Regions from separate parts of the Homo sapiens genome. Here region 1 is linked to region 2. The links are contacts of gene promoters, found by promoter capture Hi-C in human tissues and cell types (Jung and others, 2019). All regions are on one chromosome and are shown on one strand. Each heading gives the region's core, a stretch centred on a gene start or on the middle of the fragment in contact. The rest is flanking DNA. Distances are from core to core; before and after follow the strand shown.

Region 1 (4,164 bases), core at 1,330-3,829, 720 kb before region 2:
CTCCATGCTGGCCAAGCATTGGCTGGCTTCGGGGCTCGGCTCCCGAAGCTCTCGGTGCAGCTTCTCTAAAGCGCTGGGGCAATGGTGGGTCTCAGACTAAAGGTGATAGCTTTGCAAACCACACGCACACCCGCCAGCTTGGTTCAGCAGGAGCCCTGGGGGAGGGCAGATGCACTCACAGCAGCTTGCATGTGAACCGCACAGAGCTGGGCAGCGCCTATCCTGTGCACAGCTCATTTTTAAGCGGCAAGGTTATAATTCCTAGCCTTAACGTTGTCCATCTTGATTTTCTCCTTTCAGTTCCTTCTCGTCCACTATACTGACCACACAGGTACAAGGTGAAAAAAAGAAACCCACCTGAAATCCAGGTCAGGCCACTGAGTGTGGGAGAGCAGTGGAGGGCGGTGCCCAGCACAGGGGGCAGCCACAGCTCCACAGCTGAGCGAGGGCAGCCCTGGCACTCCAGGCTTCTGGGGAGCAGCCCTCCGGTGCCTGCAGCTGCCTGACATGGAAGCAAGTGCCCAGGCCGGTGTCGGGTTCACTCTGCATCCTGGCTGGGCACTTCTGGGGTGGGTGACCTTGGTTCAGCCCCTCCACTTCTCAGGACAAGTTTCCTTCCCAGTAAAATGCCTATAGTCACCCTGAGCTCCAAAATCCATGAACCTTTGCGTTCCCTTAGGTTGAGAGCTTTAACTCAGCTTTGCTGGAACCGGGGCATTCCAATCAATGCATAACCACCTCGCGACAGACACGAAGCCCAAACGCAATAGAAACCACAGGAAAGGAGGAATGATACAACATACTGTTATGATTTTTATAAACACGCTTTAAACCAAACTAGGCCATAAATCACCTTGGTTTCAGAAAAAGCCAAAATACTGACACAATCTTTTATTTTCCTATTAAAGTCAAGAATGTGTTAAGCCGAATTAATTGAAAAGGAATTGAAGCTCATTTCCTAAGACACTTCTATTCATAAGTCAAACAGCATTACCTAACTCCTAGAATGAGAGAATTTCTGGGCTTGGAGATCGCCTAGTGCAATTCACTCCTTTGATGGAAAATCGAACCCCAGGCAGGCGACAGGCCAAGGTCACAGAGGCAAAGCAGGGATGGGAACCAGCCTCCCTGAACCTGTTTCTGACAAAGGGCGAGGTTCTGGGCCCACACACAGGCAGGCCGAGCTCAGTATCTGACGGTGAATGAATGAAGCTAAGTGGTGCTCCCCACAGGGCCCGGCTCTTGTAACTGCTTCACAGACAAGCGATTTCCAGGTTATGGAGACATCCTAGCACAGAATTAAACGCTTCAAACTCAGACTGTTAACTCCTCAGAAGCCAGAGTGGAGTTTCTCAGCCCTGGCTACATCAGCTAACAATCTCGCCAAGCAAGGAACCAAGGGGGCAAAGACATCACCTCCAGAAACTCGAGTGTTCCTTCTGCTGACAGAGGAGCAGCCCGCCTGCGGCCTTGTTCTGTGTTTACATCAACCACCCAATTCACCCGTGTCACAGACCTTCAAAATACGGGATTAGGGACAAGGGAAAGGTCTCCAACATCATCCACAGACGGCTGCAGCCCCCTAAGAACACCAAAAGATTCCTTTTCTAGATGGGTTTAGAATGGCAGCCAACAGAGGTAGCACTTGGGGTCGGGAAACGGTTTTGACTGAACACACGCACGAAAGCAAAGGCAATTGTCATGCAGAGGTGGGTGGGGAGGGGAGAGTGAGGCCTGGCTTTGAAGCTGAGCTCCCCGGGGATGACGCCAGGCACATCGGGTTTGGGGCTGAAGATTCAGGGCTGGGGGCACGGAGGAGGGGGCCAGGGCCCAGGCCTGGGCGGAAAAGGGGGTCCCCGGGAGTCGGGGTGGGGTCCCGGGGCAGGCGGGGGAGTGCTCTAGGGAGGTGTCTCACGGCGGGCAGAGGGGGTGGGGAAGTCCCGGGGCGGGGGATATGGGGTCCAGGCGGGTCTCGGGGCGGGGTCTGGGGGTCCAGGGGTCCCGCGGTCCGGGGTGCCGGAGCGGGGTCTGGGGTCGGGACGGGTGTTGGGTCCGGGGCCCGGGGCTGGCTGGGGGTCCGGGACGGGGATGCGGGCGGGTCCCGCGGCCCACGCACCTCCTCCGCCTGCCTGCGCAGCGCCTTCTCACGCTCGTACTGGGTGAGCAGCTGCTCGTTGTCCTCGCGCAGCAGCTCCAGCTCCACCTCGTGCTCCTGGTTCTCGCTGAGCACCGAGTCTAGGTTCTCCAGCACGTTCACCACCAGCGGCATGAGCTCCTTGACCACCTCCTCGTCGTAGCAGTGGATGAGGCGCTCGAACTCGCGGTAGATGGAGCCCGCCAGGCCCGACACCCGCTCCGACATCACCGAGCCGGAGCAGTAGTCGTCCTGGTACACCACCACGCCGCCGCCCTCGTCCATCTGGATCTCCATCATCGCGGCCACCGCCGCCGCCAGCGCGGCTCGCTATCCGGCCGGCGCGCCCGGCCCTCCCCAGCTGCCTCAGGTTCCGCAGGCCGCAGCCCGTCGCCTCCCGCAGCTGCTGTCGCCTCAGGGCTCCGCCGCCGCCGCTGCCGAGGCTGCGCCCGTCACTCACTCACCGGAAGTCCCGCCCTCCAGCCGGAGGGGGCGGTGCCCGCGCGTCCCGCCGCAGCCGCGCCGCCAGGGGGCGCAGGGGCCGTGACGTCAGAGGAAGCCGGGCTTCGGGCCGGAAGCGCGGGTGAGCCGGGCAGAGGGAGCTCCCGGCCAGGCCGGTGGGATCCGCGGGGCGGCAGTGGTCGCTTCCCCCAGCGCGCTGTAGCTTGATCATGTCCCCGCAACCGTGGGCTTCCGGTGACCTCGATCCCGTCTCCAGGCTCTGCACACTTCGGCGGACTTAGGTGAAGGCTCAGCGCCTGCGCCTCAATCCCGGCCGCCCTGATGAGCCTCCGTTCCCTACAGCACCGCGCCCCGCTCAGTGCCTCCCCTCTCCTGATGCCTTCCCCGCTCAGCTGGCTCCTCCCGGGATTCTGTGAATGCACCCTCAACGCCCATCTCATCCTGAAACCCAGCAGCGTGGCCTCCTTCCTTTCGCCCACTTCTCCCTACTGCACTGACTGCTTCAGATTTTCTTTTTTTTTTTTTTTTTTGAGATGGAGTCTTGCTCTGTCGCCCAGGCTGGAGTGCGGTGGCGCGATCCTGGCTCACTGCAAGCTCCGCCTTCTGGGTTCAAGTGATTCTTCTCCCTCAGCCTCCGGAGTAGCTGGGATTACAGACCAGCTAATTTTGTATTTTTAGTAGAGACGGGGTTTCGCCATGTTGGCCAGGCTGGTCTCAAATTTCTGATCTCAAGTGATCCGCCCGCCTCGACCTCCCAGAGTGCTGGGATGACAGGCGTGAGCCACCGCGCCAGTCCAGATTTTCGGTTACTTTTCAGCTACGTGCAATCTGTTTAACCCATCCACTGGGTTATTAATTGCACCGATTTTTTTTTTTTTGAGACGGTGTTTCGCTCTTGTCGCCCAGGCTGGAGTGTGATGGCGCGATCTCGGCTCACTGCAACCTTCGCCTCCTGGGTCCAAGCGATTCTCCTGCCTCAGCCTCCTGAGTAGCTGGGACTACAGACACGCGCTATTAACGCCCGGCTCATTTTTTTGTATTTTTAGTAGAGACGGGGTTTCACCATGTTGGCCAGGCTGGTCTTGAACTGCTGACCTCAAGTGATCCACCCGCCTCCCTCGGCGTCCCAAAGTGCTGGGATTACAGGCGTGAGCCACTGCACCCTGCCAATGATTCTGTTTTTGTCCTATTTGATTTCTTATATTCTAGCAGTTTTAATAGGCTCTTATACTTCCAACCACATATTTATCTTTAAGCGTTGGGTGTGCCTCATAACTACAGTATCTGCAGCCCTTGCAGGTCTGATTCTGCATGTCATCCTGGTTGACTCTTGGCCCAGGGTCCCCTTTCCCCCATTCTGAGCCAGTGTCCCCAGGACTTTTGTCTCTGGAAGTACTTGAGGCCTGAACTTAAAATGTGTTGCTCCGTAAGATTTGCACTTTATTTTGCTGGGCAGGGGACACCATGAACCCAAGACTTTGAAACTCAATTTGGGAGCCACACATGTATTGTGAATCCTGATGAAACCACATCAGTGACTATTTAATGCTAATAGAAATGGCCACTTA
Region 2 (4,815 bases), core at 288-2,787:
AGACACCCAGAAGCCCTGGCAGGGCCCAGGCGCCCGTCCTCACTGAGCCACAGGACACACTCCTTGGGACTCTTCCCGAGGCTCACCTCCAACCGCCTGTGCGGCAGGACTTGGGGGAGCAGGGGCCTGCCGTCCACAGCGCCCCGTGGCTGCGCCCTAGATCCAGACAGAAGGCAGGAGGTGCAAATACGCAAGCTCCAAGCTCCCTTCTTCCAGGTGAGGAGCAGGATACGGGAACCAGAGCCCCAAACCAAGAGAACCATTTGAAACCCAACCAGAGGACACTCGGTGGGGGCGGCCTGTCCTGAGCAACAAGTTCTTCACTCTGCAGTCCTAATTTCTGGAAAACTGACCGGCCCCACCACGCCAAGGCGTGCACACGGCGCACCCCGTCATCTCCACTCCTGCCCTCCCTGCTTCGGACCGAGGGTGTCCAGGAGAGGGAGAAACTGCGGGGAGGGTACTCGCAGGCAAACCTGCTGCCCACCCATCCGCCTGCCGCACTCCCTCCCCATGGGTGGTCCAGGAGCTAGAGGAGCTGAGCCCTTTCTAAGGAGGGAGCACCTCCAGAGAGCCGCATGCAACTTGCTGTCGTGCCGGGCGTGCCTCCCGGGGCTGGGGCCACTCGCAACGGCTGGAGGGCACGTCGGGGTGCCAGCCATGGCCCTCCGCAGGGTGTTCCCCGCCAGGAGAACTGGCTCCAGAGCGCACCCGCCACGAGGGTGCACACCCCAGGCGCTGCCCTCCGCGGATCCCGACTCCCATAGCTGGCGCCGGACCCCGGCTGGCCAGAGGATGTTTTTCCACTGGGACCCGCCCTGACACCCGCCCGGGGTGCAGAGCCCGGAGCCTGCGTGTGGCCACCACCTCCGCGAGCTCTGCGCCCTCCAGGCCCCCGCTCGCAGTCCGAGACCAGGGGCGGCCAAGGTCCCGAACCCCGCCCCCGGGGCGCCGGCACTCACCGCCACAGCTTGCCCAGCGTCTTGCTGAGCTCGGCGTTGTGCAGGTGCGGGTACTGGTCGGCCAGCTTGCGGCGCGCCGCCTGCGCCCACACCATGAATGCGTTCATGGGCCGCTTCACATGCGGCTTGGCTTTGAGCGCGCCGCCGCCGCCGCCGCGCACCGGCATGGGCACCAGACTCCAGTCGTAGCCCTTGAGCACCTGCGACACGGCGTCGCGGATGCAGGCCGGGAAGCGCTCGTCCGCCGCCTCCGCCGGGTCGCCCCGGGCGCCCCCCACCGCGACCCCCGCGCGGCCCAGGCCCTCGGAGCCGGCGGGAGACGGCGGCGCGTCCGAGTCCGAGTCCTCCACGTGCGACATGGAGCTGGCGGTGCCGGACGGGCTGCAGGGCGGCTGGGAGCGGGCCTCGCTCATGTCCAGCATCGGGGCCGCGCGCGGAGGGGCGCGCACAGGAGACGCGCACCGGGGCCGGCGCCCGGGGCTGCCCTGCGGTCGCTCCGGGACCCGAGGTCGCCGCGCGGTGGCCCCGACCCTCGCCCCTGCCGCCGCCGCCGCCGCCGCCGAGGCTCGGGTCCCGCTGCGGGACCCGCAACAAGTTTCTTTAAGCGGCGGCCCCGCGGCCCCGCCCCGCGCCCGGCTACCCATTGGCGGAGCGCGCCCCGATCCCCCGGAGGCGGAGCCCGGCCGCCCCCGCCCCCCCACCCATAAAGAAAGCTCCGCGGCTCTCGCCGCGCCCCCGCCTGCCCCGCCCGGCGCCGCACCACGTGGGCCAGGCGCCCCACGCCTGGAGCTCCCCTCTCTGGAGCCCCGGGAAAGGAAGCGGGGCAGGGAGGCCGGGTGGGAGCAGGGGGGTCTCCGGCGCTTCCTCTCCTCTGCGGGCGCCGCGCGGCTCCTGAGAGTCCGCCCCCCGTCCTGACGCTCAGCTAGGAAGCGGGTCCTCGGGCCCCTCCCCCGACACACACACACACACACACACACACACACACACACACACACACTCTCTCTCTCTCTCTCTCTCTCTCTCTCTCTCTCTCTCTCTCTCACACACACACACACACACACAGCCCGTCTCGCGCCTGAGGTCTCGCCCGCAGGCCGGTGGCGCGGGGTCAGCTGCTGCCTGCGGTCCAGGACAGGGTCGGTTCCGCCGCGCAGCGCCCAGGCCCAGCTCGTCCAGAGTCTGCGGACAGCGCACGTCCAGGTAACGCGCTTCAAGGGGCCGCGGCTCGGAGCTGGGGGACCCCGGGCCGCCCTGCCCATACGAGTGCGAGCGTGGAGAGCGCGGGCGGGGGCGCGGTCCCGGGGGCCGGCCAGCTGGAGGGGGCGGGAGCGCTGGGCGGGGCCTGCGCTGACCCCGGCGCTGAGTCCCTGGGGCCGCCGGGCGGATGGCGTGGCCGGACGCGGGGGCCCCGGGCCTTCCGGGCGTGACCTAGGGCTCGGGGGCGGGGAGGCCCCTCCGGCGGGGCGGCCCTGGGTGGTCCGGCAGAGGCGGAGGCCGCTCCGAGCCTGTGAGCCCTGGGCGCCTGCGGAGGCGGGGAGAGGGCGGGGTGTGCCGCCCTGGTGGGGACCGCGGGGTCGGAGAGGGGACATTGCCCCCCCCGAGGCGAACGTCCAACCGCGGGTCCGGGTCCCCGCCCAAGGCCGCCCCGCGAGGTGGCCTCGGCCCGGCCGTCCCCGAGGGTGGCTCGGATCCTTTCAACCAGCGCGCTGGAGGCGAAGGGGCTGCGCCATTCCGGGTCAGGCAGCCAACGCGGGACACGCGCGTCTCCGAGCTTGCGGCCCGCGAAACCCGGGTGACCTACCGCGCCGGTGCCCTCAAAGCCCCCACGCCCGGGCCGGTGGCCGCTGCAGCCACTGAGCCACGCGGTCTCCCCGGCCCGGTCGGCAGAAGGAGCTGGTCCGTTACTAGAAAAGTCCAGATGCAAAGTCGGGGGTCGTGCTGCCGCTTCCTGCCAGCGCACCGCACCCACCTGGGGCCGCCACCGACCGCACAGGACGCGCCTCCTACCCCCTGTTCTGGCCCGGCCGAGAGCTGGTGCCCCCAGCGGCCGCCCGCCCCCGTCCGCAGACCCCGGGGCCCTTGCTGCTTTGCATTGGGAACAACCGGAGCCAGGCCCGGAGCTGAGGGGGCCAGGGCCTTTGGAGGAAGCATTGGCCTCCAGGCTGAAGAGCAAGGGCCGTGTCACCTGCCCGGAGGGCGGTCTCATCTCTGCAGCCAGGTCAGAGGAAGCAGCGGTGGGGAGACGGAGTGCGCGAGTTGGGAGGCTCCACGCATCGTAGGTGGAGAGCTGGCTGCCAGCCTGGCCTGCCCTCTCTTCCCCGTCCCACCATCTCGCTTGGCTCCGGCACCTGCCTGGGAAGACCCACACCTCCGTCTGCAGTGCCTCTTCCCCCTGGAGGCCCTGCCCTCCGCTCGGGGTCCCCGCATCCTTCCGTGGCCCTCAGAGCATCGCCTGGGGCGCCCGCGGAACTCATCTGTTAGGCCTGGGATGCAGGCAGGCAGAAGTGGGGGTTTAAGTGGAAGCAGTGAGGGTGGGGGTCCGGTCCAAACTGTGCCACCTTCCACCCCCTGCCCCTGGGAGAGCAGACATCGCCCACTCGGGCTCACAGTGCCATCCGGGTGAGGACCTCCGTGGAGAGCTCTCTTTGCCAAAGAAAAGCAGTTGCATTAGGTCTGCGAGCAGGCAGGGTGGCCTCTTCCTGGCTCCCCATCCACCAAGGAAGCTTCAAGTCCCTGGGACACAGGTGGGGAACTCCAGCACCCCTGGAGGAAGGGAGACTGAGGTTGGGGAGTGGCATCCAGGCCCTGACTCTGGGGCACGGTGGTCTGTGCAACTGAGACCCTGCCTCAGGCTCCAACAGCGCCTGCTCCTTTCCCCAGGTTGCAGTGATCACCAGGGGAGGTGCTGGGCGTGCAGGCTGCCACAGGAGGGGTGGGGAGGTGGGGAGTCTCTGTGGCGGGGTGGTGGGGGCCTAGGCCAGTCAGCTGAGGACGTGTTGGTGCACTCCCGGGAGGGCGGTATGTGGGTGAGGATCCCCATGCAGAGTGGTGCCCACAAACCCCCCTTCCAGAGTCATCTCTGGTCCACCTTGAAGTCCCCAGGAAAATGACCTCGTCCTCCGCGGGTGTGAGCCACTAGGCCTGAGAGGACGCCGGGACGGAGCTTTCAGAGAGGGAGGTGTCGGGATGGCTTGAGGGTCACCAGGTATTAATTAAGCACTTGCTGTGTGCCAGGCACTTTCCCACACAGGATGGAGCCGGGCCACCCTCACAGCTCCTGCCCTGCAGACGCTGGCCTTGTGGAGGGAGGCAGGCAGCAGGTAACTCCAAAAGCACCTCTCAGAGGCGGGGACTTCAGGAAGGATGGTCTGGGAAAGCATCTTTGGTGTCATTTAAGCTGAGCCCTGAAGCTTCTGATCTCCTGCAGGGAGAGGCCAGCGTGTTCCCTGGGGAAGCTAGAGCAGAGTGTCTGATGACAAGAGATGGACCCGGGGGTGGAGAGTGGAGGGGCAGCCATCAGAGCCACCTCTGAGTCCACCTGATGGGCCCATGTCTTCATCCAGGGGGGAGCTGCACACACACCCTCCTCCCCTGTCTCCCATCCCTGCCCCACCCCTTCAGCTGGGGCCTGCTCCGCCGTGTCTGCATGGCCCCACCCACCCTGACCTCACCACCTGCTAGTGGGCCTTGCAGTTTCAGGGGGAGTGTACGTTTCAAGTATACCCTGATGGGGGAATCTGGACCAGGGCTGTCCCCTGGGCCGTGAGTGCCGGGCGTGGAGAGCTGGTGTAGATGACATTTGTAGCTCCACATGCCCTGGCCTGGGCGCCAAGGACAGCCGCAGAGAAGAATG

The links. Contacts are between HindIII fragments. The study calls those that stand out against the background at their distance.
Region 1: a contact is called between the fragment with the promoter of MAPK8IP3 here and the fragment with the promoter of SOX8 in region 2, in 1 of the 25 tissues and cell types used here (liver).

Annotation. Positions count from the first base shown.
Region 1 is chr16:1,704,610-1,708,773 of GRCh38, reverse strand. It overlaps MAPK8IP3 (mitogen-activated protein kinase 8 interacting protein 3), which reads right to left and starts at 2,579. Exons shown (of 32, transcript NM_001318852.2): 1 at 2,117-2,579. The coding sequence starts at 2,434. RefSeq lists silencers at 2,036-2,085, 2,106-2,215, 2,486-2,825, 3,732-4,026 and an enhancer at 2,384-3,248. The HindIII fragment of the contact is 16,634 bases long and covers 1-4,164 here.
Region 2 is chr16:978,492-983,306 of GRCh38, reverse strand. It overlaps SOX8 (SRY-box transcription factor 8), which reads right to left and starts at 1,537. Exons shown (of 3, transcript NM_014587.5): 1 at 963-1,537. The coding sequence starts at 1,384. It overlaps CEROX1 (cytoplasmic endogenous regulator of oxidative phosphorylation 1), which reads left to right and starts at 1,694. Exons shown (of 3, transcript NR_164343.1): 1 at 1,694-3,706; 2 at 4,197-4,282. It also overlaps a transcript of LMF1 not described here. The HindIII fragment of the contact is 8,118 bases long and covers 1-4,029 here.